3 separate regions of the Homo sapiens genome follow, and regions 1 and 3 are each linked to region 2. The links are contacts of gene promoters, found by promoter capture Hi-C in blood cells and fetal thymus (Javierre and others, 2016). All regions are on one chromosome and are shown on one strand. The core of a region is centred on a gene start or on the middle of the fragment in contact, and the rest is flanking DNA. Distances in the headings are between cores, read along the strand shown.

Evidence for each region. The method cuts DNA at HindIII sites, captures the fragments that hold promoters and counts their contacts. A CHiCAGO score of 5 or more calls a contact.
Region 1: a fragment that was not itself captured here is called in contact with the fragment with the promoter of IRS2 in region 2 in 3 of 17 cell types (M0 macrophages, monocytes and M2 macrophages); the score reaches 6.7 in M0 macrophages.
Region 3: a contact is called between a fragment that was not itself captured here and the fragment with the promoter of IRS2 in region 2, in 1 of 17 cell types (megakaryocytes). The highest score is 5.1, in megakaryocytes.

What each region holds. Positions count from the first base shown.
Region 1 is chr13:109,399,911-109,402,984 of GRCh38, reverse strand. It overlaps LINC00399 (long intergenic non-protein coding RNA 399), which reads right to left and starts at 2,289. Exons shown (of 2, transcript NR_126361.1): 1 at 2,177-2,289; 2 at 1,344-1,644. It overlaps LOC105370359 (a long non-coding RNA gene), which reads left to right. Exons shown (of 3, transcript XR_001750017.3): 1 at 1-34; 2 at 444-954; 3 at 2,096-3,074. The HindIII fragment of the contact is 1,294 bases long and covers 680-1,973 here.
Region 2 is chr13:109,785,168-109,788,231 of GRCh38, reverse strand. It overlaps IRS2 (insulin receptor substrate 2), which reads left to right and starts at 1,649. Exons shown (of 2, transcript NM_003749.3): 1 at 1,649-3,064. The coding sequence starts at 2,179. LOC124903211 (WAS/WASL-interacting protein family member 1-like) reads right to left here and starts at 1,148. Exons shown (of 2, transcript XM_047430835.1): 1 at 787-1,148; 2 at 1-632. The coding sequence starts at 1,139. The coding sequence ends at 395. RefSeq lists silencers at 1,252-1,421, 1,442-1,671 and an enhancer at 2,513-3,064. The HindIII fragment of the contact is 25,501 bases long and covers 1-3,064 here.
Region 3 is chr13:110,138,679-110,141,827 of GRCh38, reverse strand. No RefSeq gene overlaps it. Among named protein-coding and RNA genes, the nearest start is that of LINC03082, 11 kb to the right of the region's middle. The HindIII fragment of the contact is 1,264 bases long and covers 1,017-2,280 here.

The DNA of each region.
Region 1 (3,074 bases), core at 77-2,576, 380 kb after region 2:
GCCACATGTGTGGCTCTGGGCAAGGGCCCAAGAGGTAGGGACTCAGTTTCTCAGCAGTAAAATGAGAATAATAAGCCCCAGTGTGCAGCTCAATGTATGGGAAGTATTTACAATAGTACTGGGCAGAGTAGTCACCCTGTAATGATAGAGACCTTTGCAGAAGTAAATGGTAGGTGACTTCCTTGCTCACAAACCTTAGAGTGATCTCCTGCACATGGCTGGGGAGGAGTCTCCATGCCTGTGTGTCTAGCCCCATCTCTTACTGGTCTATAACTTCATACCTGTGCCCCGTCCACACACAACAGTTTGTAGATTCTTGAGGACAAAATGGCTCACACCTGTTTTCTACCTGGAAGCCACTTCTTCCTCATTGCGTAGCCCTGGTCTCTCATCCTCATTCATTTACCTGACTAATTTACACTCTTCTGTGTGCTTTCATCCAGATACGCTGTCTCTTCATAGAAACTTTCTCCAGTGCTCGCCTGCCCACAGACCTGGTTAGAGGCCCCGCTTTTTATGGCCCCCCGGACTTAACCACGTCACAGAAATCATCACATTGTGTTGAGCCTCCTGGGTTTCTTTGGACTGGAAGCTCCCTGAGGGCAGGGTTATCTTGTTCGTCCTTTCATCCCCAGGGCCTGGCATAAGACCTGGCGAAGAGCTGCTGCATGCTAAAGCTTTGCTAATTGAATGACTGTGTGTTATTTCTTAAATTCAATGAGAAATCACTCTACAAAGTCCAGGAGAATGAAAGTCTCAATAACCGAGCTTTCTCTCCCCTGAGCACCTACACAGGAAACTCAATTACAGTTGCAAGAGGCCTCGAAGACCTGCAGGATTTAGAAGAATCCAGGCATCTCCGGGCCCCTGGCTGGGGCTTCTGCATCTGACAATAGAGATGGCTTTGCTCAGGGGAAGAATACTTTGGGCTCTGACTCACTCCATGAGCACTGGGTAAGCAACGTCCACCTTGGTGGCTCTTGCTATAATTTGTCTGTGTGTTCAGACCCAGTCCTTCCCTCCCAAACTGCTGACAGCGGTTTTCTTCGGTTATGCTAATATCCCCCACTATGTTCAAGTTGAGTTTTGTAGACATGCCAGCTGCTCTGTTTCTTTACGTTGATTTTCTCGCTCTGCCCTAATATGTGCTCATTTCATAGGTGGACTCTCTACAATCAATCTTTTAATTTTTTAAATGTTCAAGTTATTGAGGGACACCTTCCTGAGAGGCGTCCATTGTAAACGACAGCTTATCACTGATATTATCATATGAAAGCTATTGTTGTAGGACTTTCTCTTTAGGGCCCATGTCACATGGCCATGAGAGATTAGGGTCACAGAGATTTTGAAGGGTGAGAAAAATGGAATTTATCGGGCCAAAAGGAAAAAAAGGGAAACAGGGACTCTCAGCAAAGCAACAGTCCTGCTAGCGGGTTTTCCCGCCTCAGCGATTGAATCTCAGGTACTATCCAGGATCAGGAGAGGCCAGGCTCCTCCCCTCTGCAAAGCGCGTGAACTTCCGTGGCTCCACCCCATTCTCCCAGGGCGCAGGCCGGTTGGGGTTTCCCCAGGGACCCTTTATACTTGGCTGTTCATTGTGGTGATATGGTTCCAAGCCTGAAGAACTTGCAATCTGATTAAGATCTGAATGCATGAATTAAAAAAAAAAAATTATGGTAATTTAACATAAGAAATAGTCTTGAAGCAAGGGGTTATCACAAGGGTGCTTATGACAGCGTTAGTTGTATTAGTAAAATATAGAAATAACCAATACTAGAATTTTTAAATTACAGTGAATTCTTTTGCTGCTACTGAAATTATGCTTTCAAAGATAATTAATGTTTCTAAGGATAGTTCATTTAGAGGGGAAAGTACAGAGCTCAAATTCCAAATAAAAGGTCATGATTTGAAATTACCGTGGGAGAAAATGATATAGATATGGGAAAAGAAAGTGTTTTCAAGGCAGCAAAGCTTTGTTTAAAGCTAATCACAGATAACTTCTACTTTTATTATCCTTATCAGGATTTATCTTGTATCATGAATAGTGAGCATTTGCCTCGCCTATTATATCTAATTCTGAGTTCTGTGGCTTAAGGTAGCGTCAAGCATTTGGAATGGATTCAGATAAGGGCCAGCCCGGCTGGTGCCAGAGCAGGGCACAGAGCCTGTTTCCTACCGATCCTGGATCCTGACAGTGCGACTCCGCGTGCGGCTTCTCCCTGCCATGGTCTTAGATTTCAACCTGTCTCAGTGTATGAAGAGCGAGAAGGATTCATTCCAGGTCTGTTTGTGAATCTTTTCTAAGAAGTGTTTCCTAGGCAACTTCTAGAAGGCATTAAACAATAATGGGTTTTAGTTTTTCAAGAAACCTTGGAGATCTAGGACATCCTGTCTTTACCAACGGAGACACCAAGGCACAGAGATTCCAGGGGATGTGACGGCAGAACCATTTCCTTGTTCTTGTCGGCTCGCCTTCTGCTGGCTGTGGCTTCCTTTGTGTCTAGCATGTAACCCTGCATGCCTATTCAGGATTAAGGGAGGCCAAGTTCTGCCTCCTGGCTGGTGAATGCCGGGAGGCCCAGGAGGAAGCAGTAGCTGGTGAGGGAAACGCGCAGCAGATTGACAGCTGGGCGGAGCAGGGCAGGCCTCCCGGAGCACATTTCTGCACAGAGAACTAGGAAGCAATAAAACAAACTTCACGGAAAGTGGATCTTATCCTAAAAATAGCAGGTTTAATGCTGACATGCCTACCTTTTGATGACTTACGTTTGTTTTTGCATAATTATGATTACTAATTTGAAAGCAGCTAGGAAATAATCTAATAAGGATGAAAATAATAAAAATACATTTAGAAACGTAAATTGACATAATATTATCATGTTTTAGTCAATTCAAATGAATATTTCCAAGGAATTCAGTTTATAATTACATTTAGGAAATAATAGTGCCCTAAACTTTTTTTTTTCTTTTCTTTTCTTTTTTTTTTTTTTTGAGACTGGGTCTCACTTTGTCACCCAGGCTGGGATGGAATGACATAATCATAGCTCACTGCAGCCTCGAATTCTGGGCCTCAA
Region 2 (3,064 bases), core at 400-2,899:
TTCAAAAATTACACTTATTTTCTCTTAGATTAAGATTTTATTACTTTTAAGATACTTCTATGAATTATAGAGGACATCCAAAAGTAAACATCCGGGACTTAAAAACAATAACCAATATTATAAGATAAATTATTGCTGTAAATTATTTCATGAAGGCACAATTAAAAAAAAAATAAAATAAACAGCCAAAGCCTGTTTTGTTGAGTTTTCTTCGTTGCGCAGGATCGGGAGCTTGCTGGGATCTGAACTCAGGAAGCCCTCACCTCACCCTGACTTGGTCATTGAGGAGACGTAATTGCAGGGGTGCTTATTTGCTATAGGCTTTGAAAGTCACAAAAGCCCAGTAGATACATGAATTCGAAGCAGTTCTCCAAGGGCATCTCCAACTTGGCAGTCACCGCCCGCACCGCGCACACAGGTAGTGGACGCCCGCCCACCTGCCCGTCTGCTGGGCGCAGGGCGCTCCTGGGGTGGGGAGGGCGCTCCTGTGGGGGGAAAAGGGGCGCTCCTGCCTCGGAGGGGGAAAGGACGCCCCTGTGGAAGGAAGGGGGGGCTCTTGAAGCGGTGTGGTGAGAGGACGCTTCCGAGGAAGGAAGGGGGTGCTCCTGCAGCGGTGGGGGGAGAGGACGCCCCTGCGGAAGGAAGGCGGCGCTCCTGCGGGGGCTGGAGAGACGCCCGCGCGGTCTCCCGGCTCAGGGACCGCTGGCTCGCGGGTCCGCCCTCTCCCCGGCGCTATGGAAACCGCACTTTCTCCGCCTGCCGTCCCCGATCTCTTTCTCCTATTACCTCCCAAACGCGATTTCAACTTCCCGACAAGCTGACAAGTGAATGGCGCAGAGGACGCCCCGTAAAGCGCCCGCGAGCGGGTGGGACACAGGCGCCCCCTCCGCGCCCCTCTGTCCTCCACGGAAGGGCGCGCGCCGCTCTCGATCTGGAGCGCGGTGCTCGCGAACCCGCGGCCGCGGGCCCTGGAACCTCCCCGCGTTTCGCGGCTGCGGGGGGACGGAGATGCGGCCGGGAGACGGGGACGGGAAACGGGGGACGGGGATGGGGCGCGCCCACCCCGAGCGCGGGAGCGGCCGCCCTCGCCCAAAATGGGGACCCCGCGCCCCGAGAGCACGGCCCGGCTCGCCGCCCATGCTTCCACTGCAAGGCCGCAGCCCCCGCCGCCGATCCCGATCCCCCGCCCCGCCCAGCCGCGGCCCCGCCCGGCGCCCCCTCCCCGGCGGAAGCTCAAGCCCAATTAATTGAGTCCGAGGCGGGAGGGAAGGGCCCTGCGCGCCGTGGCCCGCCCCGCCCCTCTTCCGCGCCCCTTTTCCCGCCCTGGGTGGCATCTCCTCCGCCGGCATCCACAACAAGCCGCTGATTAATGAGGCCGGGGCCGCCCCACCCCGCCCGGCCGGGCCGGGGCCTTCGCGGGAGGGGGAGGGGACGGCGGGAAACGCGGCCCGGGGAGAAAGGGGGGCGGGGCGGGGGCGCGCGGCCCGCCCCCGCGAGCGCCGCGCCGATTGGCCGAGCGCGCCGTCCGTCGGGGGGCGCGGCGCCAATGCGAGGCAGCGGGGCGGGGCGGCCGCGCTGTGTGTGCCTGCGTAACGCCGAGTCACATGTTGTTTTGCTCTTCTTAGTTCAGTCACTCGGTGCGCGATGTGTTACTCACTGTGCGGCGGGGACCGCGACGAGCCCGGGTCGCCGTTGGCAGCAGCAGCAGCAACACCAGCAGCAGCAGCAGCCCCGGCGGCGGCGCGGACCCCGAGCGCCCGGGCGCACCCCGGCTTCCCGGAGCGCGACGCGGCGGCAGCAGCCCCGGTGCGGCCGCGCGCGCCTTAGGCTCGGCCCCGCGGCTCGGGGACCCCGACTCCCGGCCCAGCGAGCGCGTCCCCCGGCGCCGCCCGAGAGCCCGAGGAGGCAGCGGCCGCAGGCAGCCGGGGAGGGGGGCGGCCACCGCCCGCGCCGGGCATCCTCAGGAGCCCCAGAGCGCGGAGGGCGCGGCGCCGCCGAGCGGTGCTGGCCCCCGCGGGCCTCCCCGGACCTTCCCCACCGCCTGGGCCCGAGGGACGCGTGATCGGGCGGGCGGCCGGGCGCAAGGGTGGGAGGGAGCCGCCCCCGCCCGCGCCCCCTCCGCCCCTCGCCCCAACCCCTGGGCGCCGGGCCCGGGCCGCGCGGCCTGAAGCGCCCGCGATGGCGAGCCCGCCGCGGCACGGGCCGCCCGGGCCGGCGAGCGGAGACGGCCCCAACCTCAACAACAACAACAACAACAACAACCACAGCGTGCGCAAGTGCGGCTACCTGCGCAAGCAGAAGCATGGCCACAAGCGCTTCTTCGTGCTGCGCGGACCCGGCGCGGGCGGCGACGAGGCGACGGCGGGCGGGGGGTCGGCGCCGCAACCGCCGCGGCTCGAGTACTACGAGAGCGAGAAAAAGTGGCGGAGCAAGGCAGGCGCGCCGAAACGGGTGATCGCTCTCGACTGCTGCCTGAACATCAACAAGCGCGCCGACGCCAAGCACAAGTACCTGATCGCCCTCTACACCAAGGACGAGTACTTCGCCGTGGCCGCCGAGAACGAGCAGGAGCAGGAGGGCTGGTACCGCGCGCTCACCGACCTGGTCAGCGAGGGCCGCGCGGCCGCCGGAGACGCGCCCCCCGCCGCCGCGCCCGCCGCGTCCTGCAGCGCCTCCCTGCCCGGCGCCCTGGGCGGCTCTGCCGGCGCCGCCGGGGCCGAGGACAGCTACGGGCTGGTGGCTCCCGCCACGGCCGCCTACCGTGAGGTGTGGCAGGTGAACCTGAAGCCCAAGGGTCTGGGCCAGAGCAAGAACCTGACGGGGGTGTACCGTCTGTGCCTGTCTGCGCGCACCATCGGCTTCGTGAAGCTCAACTGCGAGCAGCCGTCGGTGACGCTGCAGCTCATGAACATCCGCCGCTGCGGCCACTCGGACAGCTTCTTCTTCATCGAGGTGGGCCGCTCGGCCGTCACAGGCCCCGGCGAGCTGTGGATGCAGGCGGACGACTCGGTGGTGGCGCAGAACATCCACGAGACCATCCTGGAGGCCATGAAGGCGCTCAAGG
Region 3 (3,149 bases), core at 399-2,898, 350 kb before region 2:
TTTCTTCATTTGAAAAATGTCTTTATTTCACCTGTACTGGGTATTTTTTTCCACTGGACATAGAATTCTAATAGTTCTTCGCCTTCAACAATTTAAATCTGTTGTTTACTTTCTTTCCTTCTGGCCTCTATTTAGTGTCTGATAATAAACCCTGAATCATTCAAATCGGTGTTCCCCTCTAAGTAATGTGCTGTCTCTGGCTACTTTTAGGATTTCTCATTCTGTCTAATTTTCCGACATCTAATTATGACATGTCTGTGTGTGGATTGGGTTCTTTAGCTTTGTGAGTCTGTAGATGTATGCCTTTCTCTTATGGAAAAATGTTGGTGTTTGGGGGTCTTTGCAGGCCAATGACTGGGTCAGGTTCCAGGCTGCAAGCTTCAATTCACCTTCTATAGGTAGAACTGTTTTTGCGGTACTATTCAGATCTGTCCTGCATGCGTGCCCACCAACGGCCTGTCTGGGTGTGGGCAGTGTGGGCAGTTTTCAGTTTGGTAGCTGTTTAGAGTCAGATCCATGCACGCGCACATCAAAGATGAGTCCAGGAGTCCATGAACAATTTTACTGGATCTCCTTCCCTCATTCCACCGTCCCACTGAACTCCCCATTACTTTTCAGAGCCTAACATTCCTCTTGTTGACTCCTTGTTTCTAAAATTGTGTCTTTACTTACTCTGCACATAATTTCTGTGGCTGCAGCCATATCTGGGCTAAACAGCAGGAGAACTGGAGAAAAAATATGGTAAAATTGTCCTGCTTTGGTGGCACATCTAAATCTGGTTTTCTTCCCCAGTCTGTCTGCTACCGTTCACTGACAGAGTCCTCTAATAGCTGCTCCATGCACTCAGCAGGAGAGACAGGCTGGGGTGGCCTGCTAAACTTTACCTGGGACTGGCACCAGCCACAATACAGAGTACTTGTTTTGATGGTTTTAAGTATGATGGTGATAAATGGAAGAGAATGAAACGGTTCAACTTTGGTCATTTAAAAAATCTTTTCACTCTCTTTTCTAAAGCTTGAACATACCATAGTCTACCAATTTAGTTAACCATCATTCATGGGCTTTTCGATTTTAATGGCTGTATGCTGGCTCTTTCCATGCACTTTTTCACTCTAGCTTACTGGACTTTAAATTACATGCATTAGCTTGTACTCATTAGGGGTACCATCGCTTTTACACCAGAATTCTTAAAGCCTAAGACTCAGTGCACCCATCCTGTATCTGAACCCAAGAGTCATTTTGTCGTCCTCATGAAACTAGACAAATCTGAGTTCAGATGCTGACTCTGCCACTTACAAACTTGTGACCTTGGGTAAGATATAAAACCTCTCAGAGATCTGCACAAATTAGGTCATTTTTACTTGTAATTCTTCCAAATCAGAATCATAGACTGAGAAGGATTTACAAAAAAAGAGAAAACCTGTTTGGCTGTATCACTTATCATCCTTTTACTCATTCTCTGCTTCCTTCCATCTGTTCCTTCCATCTACTCATCCATCCATCCATCCATCCATCATCCATCCACCATCCATCCATCCATACATACATTCATCTGTTCATCCATCCATCTATTCATCCATCTGTTCATCCATCCATCCATCCACTGATCCATCTCTTCATCATTCATATTCTGCGTGCTTATTATTTCCCAAGTACTAGGTTAGGTACAGGATAAATGGAAATCGATAATGTCGTCCTTAAGAAGTGTTGTGCAAAAAAAAAAAAATAATAATTGTGGAAGAAACCTGTAATTTGTCAGGTTAAGGAATTAAAAAGGAGTTATGCAATAGATAGGGTGAGGTTGAGGGTTGGATTACAAATGGAATAAAGGTTGCCCACATCTGAGTGTTGCCTGGAAGATTAAATGAGAAATATGCAAGACGAAGTGCACACGGCATCTCTTCCTTCATCCAGGCCCCGAGTGAGGTCCAGGGATGCAATGTCACGGCATAGCCCCTGCCTCAGGAGACTTTATACCAATGTGGATTGTTTCTGCATTCTCCTTTACACGTGTGTCTAAATCATTCTGAGGATAATTTTGTGGTCAACTTCATTTCTACCTGAATGACAAATTCCCTATATTCAATTCCCATGATGCAAAAATAGCATTTAGTTTTATTGGGCCTAAGATGATCTCTCTGCAATATTAAAAGGTGTCCCCTAGAGTAATTTTTAAGTATCTGAGGTTTTGTTAAGATCATTCTTTTCATAATTCATATCTTCTTTAACCTTTGTTATTCCAGATTTAAGAGATGTTTTCAAGTCGTGTTCTCAGAAGCTTCTGATCCTTATCCTTCTGATCATTTGAGTTATACCTGTCTGACTCTACTATGTCTCCCTGCTGCTTTGATAAAAGACAATTTCACATACTGTGGAGGTCATCAGTCAATCTAATGTTTATTAATCATCCCCTCATTTCACATGGCTTTCTCTGGACCCCTTGGGAGGAGACAAGGTAATAAATCCTATCCTCCATCCCAGGTTCATGATCATTTGGATAGACAAGGTATATATAGAGAAAATATTTAATAATTAGAGTCCTGAAGGAGGGACTTTGCAGTGAACTTCAACATCTCAAGCCTCCTTCTTCTCCCACTTCCAAACCACCCTGAATCACGCGGGAGAAGTGAAAATATCTTTTAAAGACATCAAGAGAAAAATATTTCACAAGCCTGTTCGATAACTTTCTGAAAACACTCATTGTTCAGGGTGCTGCTTAAATGATCTTTCTGCTTCTGCCGGTGGCAAGGCCCCTCCAGCTCTGAAAGCATGCAGAGGACAGCCCATTGTTCCCTTAACGCCTGAGCATCAATCACCTGGTCACCCAACACTCAGCCAGCTCTGCGCAGAATGTTTCTAAGTGATTTTGACTGCAAGACTTTTCGCCATTGGGTCCACGTGGGAACCTCTCCCTCTGGCTCTCCTTACACCTCCACATGGGTGGACACATGGCCCCGGCCTCTGGAGGGATGGAGAGGGAGGGTGCTTCTGGAGAGAGGAGATCTGATGGGGCTGGGGTCTCTCCAACCCTGCACGTGGCACCCTGTGAACTCACAGCCTTTCATACCAGCTCCTTCCCTGGTCCTTAGCCCTTTCGTCAGTGCGGTTTAGGGCAATGGTCACCTGAACGTTTGTTTTGACAGTCACAA